Regions from separate parts of the Homo sapiens genome. Here regions 2, 3, 4 and 5 are each linked to region 1. Evidence: promoter capture Hi-C in 16 types of primary human blood cells and fetal thymus (Javierre and others, 2016). All regions are on one chromosome and are shown on one strand. The core of a region is centred on a gene start or on the middle of the fragment in contact, and the rest is flanking DNA. Distances in the headings are between cores, read along the strand shown.

Region 1 (2,743 bases), core at 68-2,567:
GCAGCGGCCCCGGCCGTGGCACAGCGCGGCCCCCGGGGGCTGCCCAGGTGCGCGGCAGCGTCGCTCCGACTCGGCCCGGGACAGCCTGCAGGCGGCGCCCGGCCAGCTCCTGCGCGGGCGACAAGCAACCGGCAGGCCGGGTCAGACGCGGACGCCGCCCCCTGCTCCGAACCCACGTTTCCTCCCCAGTGTCCCCTCCAGGTGCAGACGTACAACCCCAAGAACAGGACGCCTGAGGCCCACATCTCTCTGGGGTCCAAGCGCTGCCTGGAAGGGCTGTATTTTCCCAAGCAAACAGGTATCACCCACCAGAGAAATGACCAGGGCCCAAAATGTGTAATGGGTGACCTGCCCCCGGACACAGGTCCTTCCTCCAGGTGGACAGAGGTGAACTGCCCTGCTCTTTGGTAGTTTATCACTAAATCTTATATGCACATTTAGATTAAATACAAAGTAATCCAAGGTACGGCACTCAGCTGACTTTTCAGTTCTCCTTTAAAAAACGTCCCACTGCTATCTGATGGCCAATGGGCACTTATATTACAGAAGAGAAAACGTGAATCTATAGAAAGAGTTAGACATGCTATGATAGCATCGGGCATAATTTGCATTAAGCAGTCTTTAGGAACTCTACTTTTAAAAAGTTTAGTTTCACTATTGCAGTGTGCCTCACTCAGTCTCTTTCAGGATGATACAAAATGTAACACAGACCTCCTGTTGCTGCCCTTGGGAAACAGATCATTCTGCTTTACATGTTGTGAGAAGATACTGGTACACATAGCATTTTAACTCACAGCAGGAATTCCTCCTGATATGTATTTGCAGAAAAGAAAATTATATTTTTATTCAATGATTGCATTTTTCCAAAGGAAAAGCAAAAGGACAGACATGAGGCAATACACGCTGTAGATATAAGGAGAGGAAAAGGAACAGGTTGAAAACAGTTTATCCCTTGTCCAATTTAATAACAGCTCTTGGCTTAGGGCAGCCATCCTGCAAGCTTGAGCCCTGCCACATAAGCAGGGCAGGTCTGTACTGAAGAATAACAAACCAAACTTACCTCAGAGATGGCGAGAAGCTTTGAGGAACAGCTGACAACCCAGCAAAGAGAAGGGAGGACGCCAGCAGCAAGAAGTTCCTGAAGCCTGGGGGACGCATGCTGAGCTCCTGGGCTGCTCCGGGCGAGCTGCACTTCTGCAAGGTGGGGTTCACCGAGGGAGGCGGCAGGAGGGAGAGGTGCCACCAGCAGATGGCTGGGCAGACGGACCCACGGACACCCAGGCTTGCAGGTCCGGGGCTCCAGCCGGAGTTGCAATTGCGTTGATGAGCTGCCTGCGAGGATTTGGGCAGCGGCACTGCTCTGGGCGGGGTGCTGGTGCCAAACCCCTCAGTGGAGAGTCTAGGCAGGGAAGTAATTAGAAACAGTTGTACAAGCAGATGGTTTATTTTGACATTAAAAAAAAAAAAAGTGTCCTGTTCACAGATTTCAAGTACGGGCCACAGAAATATTTGACAAGAGAATATTTGGACTGGCCGATATTAAAGAAACCTTTAAAATAATCCCTGAGTTGTGGAGAAGGGTGAGGCCAGTGACAGTAGTGGGAACACTTGGGTAGGGAATTACTTTCACCACACGCTTTTAAAGTAGATGCACTCTTTGGAGTTTGGGTTGGGGCCGGGGCAAGGAAATCTGACAAACACAACTTTTTCTTGCATTTATTATCCTTTGATTTAAACTGGATATTTCATTTCTTTAGTCTTTAAAAAGCGTGTCATGCTTCCAGCTGTTTAGGCCAGTAGCTTATCACACCACAATTTGTTGGTGACTTGGACAGTTTAAATTGTAGTTGTCTCAAATTCACCCCATTCTCCCCATATATCAAATGTGAGAAAAGAAAATTAAATGTTTATTTATAGCACAAATTGCACTGAAAAACAATTGGTGTCATTTACTAAGCACCTACTATGTGCCAGTCATTTAGTATGTTTTCTCTAATTATGACAATAATCACACATTTATTTATGCATTAGCAAATGGGGATTTAGCATCTATCAGGTGCCAGGTTTTGTGCAAGACAGAATGAATATAACAGAGAACTAAGGAGACATGATCCCTGCTCTCTCAGAGTCCAATGAGCTAGAAAGACATTAATCAACACAAAACCACAAAAAAAAAGAACAAAGGGTTGCAAGTGCAGTGAGAAGTTACTTCCAGATGAGATACAGGCACTTGATCTAATCAAAGATGGTAGCATCTGAACAAAAAACTGAAAAAAGTATTGAATTAAATTGGGTAGAAATAAGAAGGAGATGGAAGAGAACAGGGAGACATTCTTACTCCCATTTTAAAGATAAAGAAACTGAGGGCAAAGAGGTCAACTGACTTGCTCAAATTCACAGAGGAAGTTAGTCGTATTTCAGCTGAAATCCAAAGTGCATACACTATCCCCTACATTTATGGTCATCTGGGAAAATGTGTAGAGGGTTATATGGAAGGGGGAAAACATTTTTCATTCACCCTAAGAAGAGCACTGTACATGCAATCCTTCCTCATGAAATAGAACCATCCAAGAATCATCTGTGGTCCCAGATCCTTAAAATCAGGGATGAGCCATAATAGGATGGGATTTCTCCCTGTCCTTTATATATAAGTAGGTATAAGGGTAAGACCACCACAACACTAGCCTGCTGGAGCAAGAAGACGATGAAGGTCCTCTAATCATAGTACATTTCTGTTTCTACC
Region 2 (2,743 bases), core at 84-2,583, 440 kb before region 1:
AAAGGAAAATCTTATTATATGTCCCAAACCATGATAGGAAGCTAGAGAAGCTCAGTTTCACATCTAATGCTCACTCTACATTAGTTACCAATGAAATCTGTCAGTGGGTATATGTTAAGCAATATAACATGCTATAAAGAGCCTCTTGGCAGAAATAGTAGGTTAAAATGGGAGCGGAAATTTCTTTGTCAACTTCGCAGCTGTAGCGCTGGGTGTGGGGCAGGACTTTGTGTTTCTGAGACTGCTTCTTTGTACTTAGGACAAGGATAAGTCTCAGTCAGTTGCCCTGACTGGGGGAGTTCATTGGACTAATAGATAATTCCTGAGATGCTATCTACTGCTAATATTTTATGTCTATGGCCTATACAGGTGGTGTTTCTTCAATTAGAAGCACCAGCAAGCTAAATAAAGTATCATGACAATAATCACACAAAGGTGAATTTAAAGCTTTACCTTTTCTCTCACCTAACCATTTTCATTTTTCTATCTTCTCTTCCATATTTGTATATTTGTAAGTTATTTTAATCATAATGTAGATACAATCCAATCTTAGCAGGAGTTGTTAAATCTCAAATGAGTTAAGGTATATGAAATCACCTTTAAAACTCTAAAGGGCTATTCCAAATGCAAAAGAAGCCTGATATTATTGTCACTCTTTCTTAAATATCTTTCCATATCTCTGCAAGATAAAAAGTGTGAAAAAAAAAAAAGCCAGGAAAGGTTGGGTTGAGCTGTTGTGTTTAGTGAAAGCACTTTCACTAACACAGAGGACCTGCCTTATGATGCCTCTGGGAGTCAAAGAAAACACAGACCCTCCCCATGAGATGCTAAGAATCTTGTCAGGTGTATTGGTTTCTCACTGCTGTAACAATAAGTCATTACAAACTTAATGGCTTGAAAGAACATAAACTGATTATCTTATAGTTCTGTGGGCTAAAATTCTGACGTGGATCTCGCCAGGCTAAAATTGACTTGTCAGTAGGGCTCTGATCCTTTTTGGAAGCTGTAGAAAAGAATCCATTTCTTTGCCTTCTTCCATTTCTAGAGGCCATCTACATTCCTTATCACGTGGCACTTTCCTTGAACTTCAAGGTCAACAATGTTGCATTTTTCTGATAATTACTTAATAGTCACCTCTGCCTTCCACTCTCCTTTTAAGGACCCTGTTATTACACTGGACACACCCAAATAATCCAGGATAATCTCACCATGCCACAGTCCCTAACTTAATCTTGTATGCAAAGGCCCTTTTGCCATGTCATGTAACACAGTCACACACTTCAGGTATAAGAATGTAGGTGCTTTCAGGGAGCCATTGTTCTCTCCACCACAGCAAAGCAATCACATGGACACATAATCACAATACATCATGGTTAATGCCATAGCAGCACTTGGCTGCAGAATATTGTGATGGTACAACCCAGGCTGACTTCATGCAGCTCAAGGTGCAGGAGCAGGAAAAACCTGCCAGAGGCAATCATGGACAGAGAGGTGATGACAGGGTGAATAGGAACTAGCCATTTGAAAAGATGCAGAGACTGGCTTTCAATAGCAGGCAGCCCACGCAGAGAACAAGCCTCTATTAAAATCCTACCATCCTGCCTCCCACATTACTCTCACAATTAAGTCCTTGTCACTGTCCAGCCTCTGAGAAAGGATCTGGCATCTACTGCAGGGTCATGGGTATGGCATCTTAACTGCATGCATCATACCCAACATCCAGTGACCAGAGTGATAGTTCACCTGTCTACGTATGATCTTGCCACTGCCTGCTTTAATCTACTGACCTCAAATATTCTTAGGATGCAATTCATTTTTTGTATAATTAACAGACCTCCCAAGATTTGGACACTTGGCCATCTTTTCCATCCTCATTCCGTGGTGATGCTACTTTCTTATCTAAAATAACATTTGAGATTCATACAGCATCCTGTGCTGTTATTTGGCCAGATATGGTTATGTCCACCTTTCAGAGAAATTCAAGAGGCTATGACTTACATTAAACCACATAGCTAATTGGCAACTGAACCCCACTGTTTTCCCAGCACACTATGGGGAGACCAGCCTACTGTCAAATGTTAGATTTTGTTCCTGGAGATTTTAGGATGAATATGGGACAAACTACCTCCTTGTTCTCTGCAAATTCATTTTCCCTTTAGCCATATAACACTGGGTTTGGGGTATTTTGGGGACGTGGTAGTGAGTCATAACAAGCTTAATTCCTTTTACTTCACATGTTCAATGGCCCATGTAATTACAAGGCCCAGGGATTTCCTCTCTGCTGTTAAAAGAATTATCAAGTTAAGAATGTTTTGATCTTAATTAGCTTTTACTAGGCCTTTCTGATGCCCAAATAATATATGTGGCTAAATGGTAAACAATAAGGATGAGGCCTATTTTTTTGTTTGTTTCTAAAACACTTTTCAAAGAATGTACAGTGGGAACCTACATGGAAATCTTCATAACAAAAATTTTTTAGGTAATATAAGGCACTTTTCCTTAGGGGAAAATTAAGAGTTTAGATAAGGGACACATTTTTAAATAATCAAAAAAAATTGAAAAGATGCTTCTTTTGCATCTTTGGATTGTGTTGTGTTCAATTCCCTATTATTTTATTTTCCTTGCTATGCAAACTCTAGACATCTTGAAAATTAGCTATTGGTAATCTTATCAGTTCTCCTGTAAGTCTGCCAAGTAATTGGATAGCTTTTCTTGTTTTTTGCTATGTCACATCTTCGTACCT
Region 3 (2,743 bases), core at 70-2,569, 370 kb before region 1:
GAGAGTGAAAAGATGATATCTGCAGTTCTTATATCTGACAAAGAACTCATGCCCAGAATATTTAAAGTATTCTTATGAAACAAGAAACAAGACTGACAAATTACTTAAAAATGGGCAAATAAATTGAAACAGCACTTCACAAAAGAAGATACACAGATAGCCAAGAAATTTATGAAAAGGTGCTCAGCATCATTACTCATTAAAATACCACAAACTGATACCATTAGACTCCCACCAGAATTGCTAAAATTAACATGGCTGAGAATACTGAATGCTGGTAGTGTTGTAGAACAGAAAGAACTCTCATATACGGCTATTGGCATGTCAGTTGCTATAACCATTTGGGAAAACATTTTGGCAAAATCTACTAACGTTAAACATATTTACACATTCAAACATAGCATGTCCACTCCTGGGTATATAGTCAAGAGAGACAAATGTTTCTACTAAAAGTTCATGTACAAATAATCTTAATAACAGCATTATGAATAATGGCCCCCAAACCGGAACAAATGAAATTTCCATCAGTAGTAGAATGGATAAATAAATTACAACATATTCATAACACAGAATACTACACAGCAGTGAAAGTAACACACTATTGATACACACAAGAACTCAGATGGATCTCACAGACATAAAAAGGAGAAAAAGAAACCAGACACAAAAGAATAAATGCTGCACGATCAATATGTGTGAAATTTTTAAAAAGAGCAAAATTTGGGCCGGGCGCAGTGGCTCACGCCTGTAATCCCAGCACTTTGGGAGGCCGAGGCGGGTGGATCACGAGGTCAGGAGATCGAGAACATCCTGGCTGACACGGTGAAACCCTGTCTCTACTAAAAATACAAAAAATTAGCCCGGCGTGGTAGCGGGCGCCTGTACTCCCAGCTACTTGGGAGGCTGAGGCAGGAGAATGGCGTGAATCCCGGGGGGCGGAGCCTGCAGTGAGCCGAGATCATGCCACTGCACTCCAGCCTGGGCGACAGCGAGACTCTGTCTCAAAAAAAAAAAAAGCAAAATCTAATCTTCTATGATAGAAGTCAGAATAGTAGTTACCTCTCGGGGGAGACTGGACTAAAAAGAAGCACAAGTGTATCTCCAGTGCTAAAAATGTTCTATTTATTGATCTGGTATCTGTGTGTGTGGTGTGTGTGTGTGTGTTGTGTGTGTGTGTGTGTGTGTGTGTGTGGTGTGTGGTGTGTGTGTGTACTGTAGCTGTAGCTATAAGCTTAATACTTGGGCAGTTTAATATGTGTAAGTTATACTTCACTAAAGCAGAAAAAAGGGGGTATAATCATAGCCTAAGAAAGCACTTTCAAAGTAGCTTTTCACAATTCCCCTTGCATAGCCATAGATACTATCTACATAAATGAATATATATGTAATTGTATTTTGATAAGCTTTTATATGAGAAACATGATATTGCTTTAATTCAAATTAACTTTCCTTCTTAAATGTTAATTATGACTTTGCTGCACACGTTCAACCCAGAAACACAACCTGAATGTAAAGGCTAGTCTTCATCTTGGATATGTTCATTTTAGTCTGATTTCACAATTTTAATTTTGTTATCAGCCAACGTTTATTTTATTTTAATCTGTTTTCCATGATTCTTAATTGCAAAATTATTAAAATTATATAGGACTAATCTGTTCACTATTGGTGATATGCATAAAGAAATCTTGCTTTAAGTAGCATATCTGCTGAAAAACTGTTTTTTTTTCTTTATACAATCTCATTACAGAACACAGCATCATTTATTGCCATAATATGTTTTGTCAAACATCAGAAACATTTGGTTCATTGATATATTGCTGCCACTGTTTCTCTGACATTTTATATCCTTTGGGGCCAATGAGCAAGTCCCATAGGCTTGTCCCTTGATAACTTTATATCGGTGTAATTAATTCTCATCTTAAATCTTTTTACCTGCTGTCAGCCAAGAAATAGCTAGGAAAGCTGATTTTCCAAAAGCTTGTGGATCTTAGATGAGAAAAATGATGAGTATAATGTTGAGGCTCATGTACCATCCTTTTTTCTAATTACACAGCCTGTTCTCTGAAATATCTTTCCGTCGCATCCATCAGGGATGCCCTCAACATCAGAGGGAGAAGTGCATGGCTGTGCAAAAGTGAGGATTTAAAGTCCCAAGACAGAAGACACCAGGACATGTTTTCTCTCTTATCATAAGACATGTATTTGATTTATCATGTATCTTCAAAACTATTCTAAAAATCCATATTATAATAACTTTGGGAATGAATGAGTATCATTGCTAGAAAATAGGAGATACCTTCTTGTCTGATGCTGGAAATAAAACTAAGCTGACGATTGCTGATGCAGTTATTTTGAAGTAACTTGAAAGATTCAATTTCACATCCTCAAATTTTAAGTACAAAATTACGCCATATAATTCATTTTTATTTACTTGTAATTTAAGTTTACTTTTACATCACTGATAGGTAGAATATAATGGAAGATAGCTATCCCCTTACTAAAGTGCCCATTTCTCTCCTATTCACATTGAGTCTGTGAACCCAATTTTGGGGCAAGATTCCCCACTGCTAACCGGGTTATCACAGGATCTCTGGATTAATTCATGCCACATTCTGGGACTTTCAGTTGAGTATATTTTATTTTTCATAAGAGAAATAACTGTCTTATGAAGAAAATAATCTTGGCTGTTTTTCTCTCCTTTCCCTTCTTTTCTTGCTGCCCTTCTTTAGATGATTTAATTTGT
Region 4 (2,743 bases), core at 66-2,565, 330 kb before region 1:
TAGTTTAGTTTAAACTTAAAGTTTAACTTGTAGTACCCAGTTAGTAATATCAAGAATGGCTTAAAATGACACAGCTGCAAACCCTACATACATCAAGTTGCCCAGCTCTTAGATAATATTGTTTTACTTTATATTATCTACTTTAATATTGTTTTTCTTTATTTATTAATATAGAAAATAATATTGTTTTCTAATAGCTTTTGCTTTGTTTTGGTTTGGGTTTTTTTTTTTTTAATCTTTGGGAGAAGCTAGGCTTTGAAACTGTGGATATTTAAATAGAGTCTGTCATGATCAGCTGGGGTTGCTAACCCTCACCGCAAATATTCTTTACAAAGCAGAAGGGATGCTCCCTGCCTTTGAATAATTTACATATCTATATATAATTTTTAAAATATTAAAACTAAAGATATACCAATGTCACATCCATGTATGCATTATATGTACATTTGGAAGACATGTGCTTTTTTGTGGCAGATGTAATGACTGCACTTCTCATTCTACTCAAATAGAGTACCTAGGAGACAATGTGAGACCCTGAACACATTTTAGCAGATCTGGGGTTGGTTGTTTCCTCTTCATGTGGAACAGTATAAATAAAGCTAGAAGTGATCCTGAGAACTATGCATGAAATAGATGTCTGGGGCCCCTTTCATGACCTCACTAGCCTATTGTTAAAGCCACCTTAGCATCTGATACTTCCCCCTTGCCACACTTGATCCCATAGATTGCGTATGCAGTGATATGAGTGCTGCACCAAAGCAAAGATCAAGTCTAATTCATTCAACAGTGTATGTCTATTGTCTTAAACAGTTCAAGACACACAGCAGGTGTTTCATAAACACATGCTGACCCTGGAAAGCCATGAGTAAAATTGACAAGTGGGACAAGAGAAAGATTAGATAAGAATGGGAAAATAGCTGGGAAATGGGAAGATTATATTCATTATATGTTACCATTCAAACATTGAAAAGGTTAAATAATCTTCAGAATGACATCAATTAAACTTTACATAAGACTAAAGTCTAAAGGGAAGAAAGGGTAATATTAGAAAGTAAACAAGAAATTTGCTCCCTGGAGCACAAATATGTTAATGGTTTCTCCTGGAATTGAGCAATGTGGCAACCCAATCAGAAATGGCTTCATGAAGGTGGGTCATAAGTGGAGCCTTGTGGGATCTGAATAAATTGAGAGAAGAAGAAACTATATTCCCCAAAATGATCAGAATGTAGAAAATTTTCTGGCAGCAAAAATGAGTAGGGCATATTTAAAAGACTTCTCTGAACTAGAGGATATTAAAGAATAATAGAAGTTAAGATCAGAAGGTCTATTGGGACCACATTGTAGATAGCTACTTCTAAGCTATGATGTTCAAACTTTGAACTGTGAGCAGTGACTTGTTGAAAGAACTTTAAGGAATATCAATTTGGCACTAATGTACAGGATAAGTTAGAGGAATCAGGAAACAAAGAGATCAATCAAGAAGCTGCTGCAGGGCTACAGTAACCAAAACAGCATGGCTTTGGTACAAAAACAGACACACAGACCGATGGAACAAAATAGTGAACTCAGAAATAAGACTGCACACTTACAACTATCTGATCTTTGACAAACCTAACAACAACAACAAAAAAGCAATGGGGAAAGGATTCATTCCCTAGTCAGTCAATGGTGCTGGGATAACTCACTAGCCATATGCAGAAGATTAAAACTGGGCCCTTTTCTTGCACCATATACAAAAATTAACTCAAGATGGATTAAGGACTTAAATGTAAAATGCAAAACTGTGAAAACCAAAGAAGACAACCTAGGCAACACCATTTAGGGCAATGTCAACAAAGGCAAAGATTTTCATGACAAAGATGCCAAAAGCAGTTGCAACAAAAGCAAAGATTGACAAATAGGATCTAATTAAACTTAAGAGCTTCTGCACAGCAAAAGAAACTATTAACAGAGTAAACAGGCAACCTAGACAATGGGAGATAATTTTTGTAAACTATACATTCAACAGAGGTCTAATATCTAGCAGCTATAAGGAACTTAAAAAATTTACCAAAAAAAAACCTCAACGCCATTAAAAAGTGGGCAAAGGATATGGACAGATACTTTTTTTTTTTTTTGAGACAGAGTCTCGCTCTGTCACCAGGCTGGAGTGCAGTGGTGCAATCTCAGCTCACTGCAATCTCCGCCTCCTGGGTTCAAGCGATTCTCCTGCCTCAACCTCCTGAGTAGCTGGGATTATGGGCATGTGCCACCACACCCAGCTAATTTTTGTATTTTTAGTAGAAACAGGGTTTTCCCATGTTGTCCAGGATGGTCTTGATCTCCTGACCTTGTGATCCACCCGCCTCAGCCTCCCAAAGTGCTAGGATTACAGGCTTGAGCCACCGCGCCCGGCCAACACTTTTAAAAAGAAGGCATACATGCACCAACAATCATATGAAAAAAAGGCTCAACATCACTGATCATTAGAGAAATGCAAATCAAAACCACAATGAGATACCATCTAATACCAGTCAGAGTGGCTATTACTAAAAAGTAAAAAATAACAGATGCTGGCAAGGTTGTGGAGAAAAAGGAATGCTTATACACTGTTGGTGGGAGTGTAAATTAGTTCAATCATTGTGGAAGACAGAGTGACAATTCCTCAAAGACCTAAAGACAGAAATGCCATTTGACTCAGCAATCCCATTACCACAGGGATTACAAATTGTTCTACTATAAAGACACATGCAAGTGTATATTC
Region 5 (2,743 bases), core at 131-2,630, 290 kb after region 1:
GTTTGGAAAATAAAATCAAGAGGGACTTGGTGATAGGTTGGATTTAAAGACATGAGTGAGAGAGTCTCAAAGATGATTCCTGGTTTCAGGTTTCTACAGTTGCATGAATGAAATGTCATTAACTGAGTTAAGAAACACTAGCATACAACCGTATTTGGGGGAAACGTTCATCAACTCAGCCTTGGGCATGTTGAGTTGGTGAATCTTTCAAGATGTCTGAACAGAGATGCCTAATAGTTGTGTATAGGTCTGGAGTTCAGGGGAGAAGGATGGCTGCCTAGAGATATAAATGTGGACATTCAATGTAATTCTCAATTATTTATTCAGGTGCTGTTCTAGACATGTGGCGTAGGTCAATGAACAGAACAGACAAAAATGACTGCCTCCTTTGAGCTTCAGTCCTAGTAAAGTTCTCCATGTTTTCATAATACTGGAAGGTGTAAATCTGGATGAGATTGTATAGGGTGGGAAGAAAAAATATGCTGGAGCCTTGAGGAAGAGCAACATTTAATAACTGCTGGTGTTTGCCTTTATGGTAACTCAACCTGTCTCTGTTTTCCTCCTTGTGTATTTTCACTTTCAGTTCCATTGCAAATAGTCAACATTTTCTGTATCTCAGGTTCAAAACTTGATCAATAAGAACAGATTTGGTCGATCCAGCTAATCAATATGATTCCTTTTAGGCAGGAATTTCATCTCTGATTGCCTCGCAATGCTGGCCAGTCTTATAGAAAGTCCCTGTCTTTGGCCCGGTTTCTGGCTCAACCAGCTTTGACAAGGGTGATGAGTTACTTTGTACCATAAGGCAATTTATAAGGAAGAAACACCTTCATAAAAAAAAACAAAAACAAAACAAAACAAAAAACAGAACAGGCAGACATTTGGAGAACTCACCTGCATATTACAGAGAGATTTAATATGTTTATCTATTGCATGCCACTGTAATTTAACAGTCTAGGCAAAGGTAACAGAAAAGAGGAGCTGAGATAATCCAGCTCCTCCCCAACCACTCATTCAGGAGGAAGCAGATGTGAGTGCCATTGTAGGGTCCTGAGGGAGTATTGGTTCCCATTTCCTAGCCTGCCCCTCCTCCCCACGCTTGGTCAGTTACACCTTCATATGGCTCCTGTTCTCACTTTACCTCTCTGCTTTATGATAAGCGCAGATAAAAGGCAAGAGACACAGACAAAGCGAAAAAGAAGGAAGAGGGAAGGAAATTTAGAAGGGACCTTGCAAACATTTTCCTTCCACTGAGTGGTCCACAGGAGGAAACAATGAAAACTTCTCTCTCCTTTGGGAGGCCAAGGCGGGCAGATCACAAGGTCAGGAGATCGAGACCATCCTGGCTAACATGGTGAAACCCTGTCTCTACTAAAAATACAAAAAATTAGTCAGGCATGGTGGTGTGTACCTGTAGTCCCAGCTACTCAGGAGGCTGAGGCAGTAGAATCGCTTGAACCCAGGAGGCAGAGGTTGCAGTGAGCCGAGATCGCACCGCTGCACTTCAGCCTGGGCGACAGAATGAGACTCCGTCTCAAAATAAAATAAAATAAAAATAACAAAAAATAACAAAAAACAAAAAAAACCTTCTCTCTCACTAACAAAGAGATGTGATTTTGGAGAAATGTCTTCCCTCTCTTTCAGTTTTACCAAATCTAACTTGGGTATCTTTAGATCCGGTGTGCCCTCTTTTCTTTGATGACACGAGTCCTAACTCCTATATATTGTCTTATATGATTGTTTTATGTCATCCAAGCTGGCACTTATATCATCTCCCTGGTCTCATAGGCATTTAAATCTGGGCCCCTGCACTAGACCCTGACAAGATCTCTTCTAGATCTAAAATTCTCATCCGGGAAAGAGTCGAGAGCTGTCATTACTGGGACACCTGTAGCTGTATACTTCATTATGACAGATCTGTTGTTTATGTCCAGTGTCTCTTCTGATTTTGGGGTGTTCATGCTGCATGGTTTTCTAATATACGTAGTTCTAATATGTTCTCTGTTCATTACTGCGAATTTCTGCTCCGACCCCTGGCCACCTACACAAACCGCAATCCCCAGCATAGGCAACATGTTAGTAACCACCCGGAGGGGGCGACTGCAAGCCATGATGAAGAGCTGGGTCTACCATGTACCTGACCTGTGCTGCAAGCTCTGGCACTAGAGCTGGGGTCACAGGGCCCTAGATAAGTAATCTCCTCTGAGAATAGTCAGATTTTGTCAATACATACAATTTTCTCTTAGCAGAAATCTTGGTTGTATTAATAAATGCTGTCATTGACAGCATTGCTTTGTATTTGTACATGGATCAAATGAAAGAATAAAAGTCAGGAAAGTGATGATATTCATTCCTTGCCATTTACTTAATATGCCATCAAACTTTCCCACTTTCCTATTATTTTTTCACTCTGGGAGTTTAGGAAAGGGAATTATATGACTACCTGGATTCTCATATGCCTTCAACATATTTTTAACTGGATCATTTCATCTTACTCTGGATTTGTGCCTAAAATCTCAGTGCTAAGTGCTCTATCTTCTAAATTGAGATTCCACCTTCCAAAGATGACTGGTGGTCCTCTTATTCCTGATTATCTTCCCAGCTCACACTCCCCCAGATGAAATAAGGAGAGTGCTGTGGGAGGAAAGTTGTGGTAGAATCATCAGTAGCAGTGTTTACGGAGAGAGATTATTCCTCCTTTGCCAAAGCGCAAGAGAGGACTTCCAGAGAATCACTTGTAGGA

What was found. Contacts are between HindIII fragments. The CHiCAGO score rates a contact against its expected background, and 5 or more counts as called.
Region 2: a fragment that was not itself captured here is called in contact with the fragment with the promoter of ITGBL1 in region 1 in 1 of 17 cell types (erythroblasts); the score reaches 5.1 in erythroblasts.
Region 3: a contact is called between a fragment that was not itself captured here and the fragment with the promoter of ITGBL1 in region 1, in 1 of 17 cell types (erythroblasts). The highest score is 6.5, in erythroblasts.
Region 4: a fragment that was not itself captured here is called in contact with the fragment with the promoter of ITGBL1 in region 1 in 1 of 17 cell types (erythroblasts); the score reaches 5.2 in erythroblasts.
Region 5: a contact is called between a fragment that was not itself captured here and the fragment with the promoter of ITGBL1 in region 1, in 1 of 17 cell types (endothelial precursors). The highest score is 5.6, in endothelial precursors.

Annotation. Positions count from the first base shown.
Region 1 is chr13:101,451,249-101,453,991 of GRCh38, reverse strand. It overlaps ITGBL1 (integrin subunit beta like 1), which reads right to left and starts at 1,317. Exons shown (of 11, transcript NM_004791.3): 1 at 1,061-1,317; 2 at 1-109. The coding sequence starts at 1,158. RefSeq lists an enhancer at 1,235-1,739. The HindIII fragment of the contact is 2,431 bases long and covers 1,081-2,743 here.
Region 2 is chr13:101,891,991-101,894,733 of GRCh38, reverse strand. The region is part of intron 1 of FGF14 (fibroblast growth factor 14); the gene reads left to right. Among named protein-coding and RNA genes, the nearest start is that of FGF14, 24 kb to the left of the region's middle. The HindIII fragment of the contact is 1,767 bases long and covers 450-2,216 here.
Region 3 is chr13:101,819,228-101,821,970 of GRCh38, reverse strand. The region is part of intron 3 of FGF14 (fibroblast growth factor 14); the gene reads left to right. Among named protein-coding and RNA genes, the nearest start is that of FGF14, 96 kb to the left of the region's middle. The HindIII fragment of the contact is 172 bases long and covers 1,234-1,405 here.
Region 4 is chr13:101,782,843-101,785,585 of GRCh38, reverse strand. The region is part of intron 3 of FGF14 (fibroblast growth factor 14); the gene reads left to right. Among named protein-coding and RNA genes, the nearest start is that of FGF14, 130 kb to the left of the region's middle. The HindIII fragment of the contact is 5,002 bases long and covers 1-2,743 here.
Region 5 is chr13:101,158,766-101,161,508 of GRCh38, reverse strand. The region is part of intron 15 of NALCN (sodium leak channel, non-selective); the gene reads left to right. Among named protein-coding and RNA genes, the nearest start is that of LINC00411, 220 kb to the right of the region's middle. The HindIII fragment of the contact is 2,828 bases long and covers 1-2,743 here.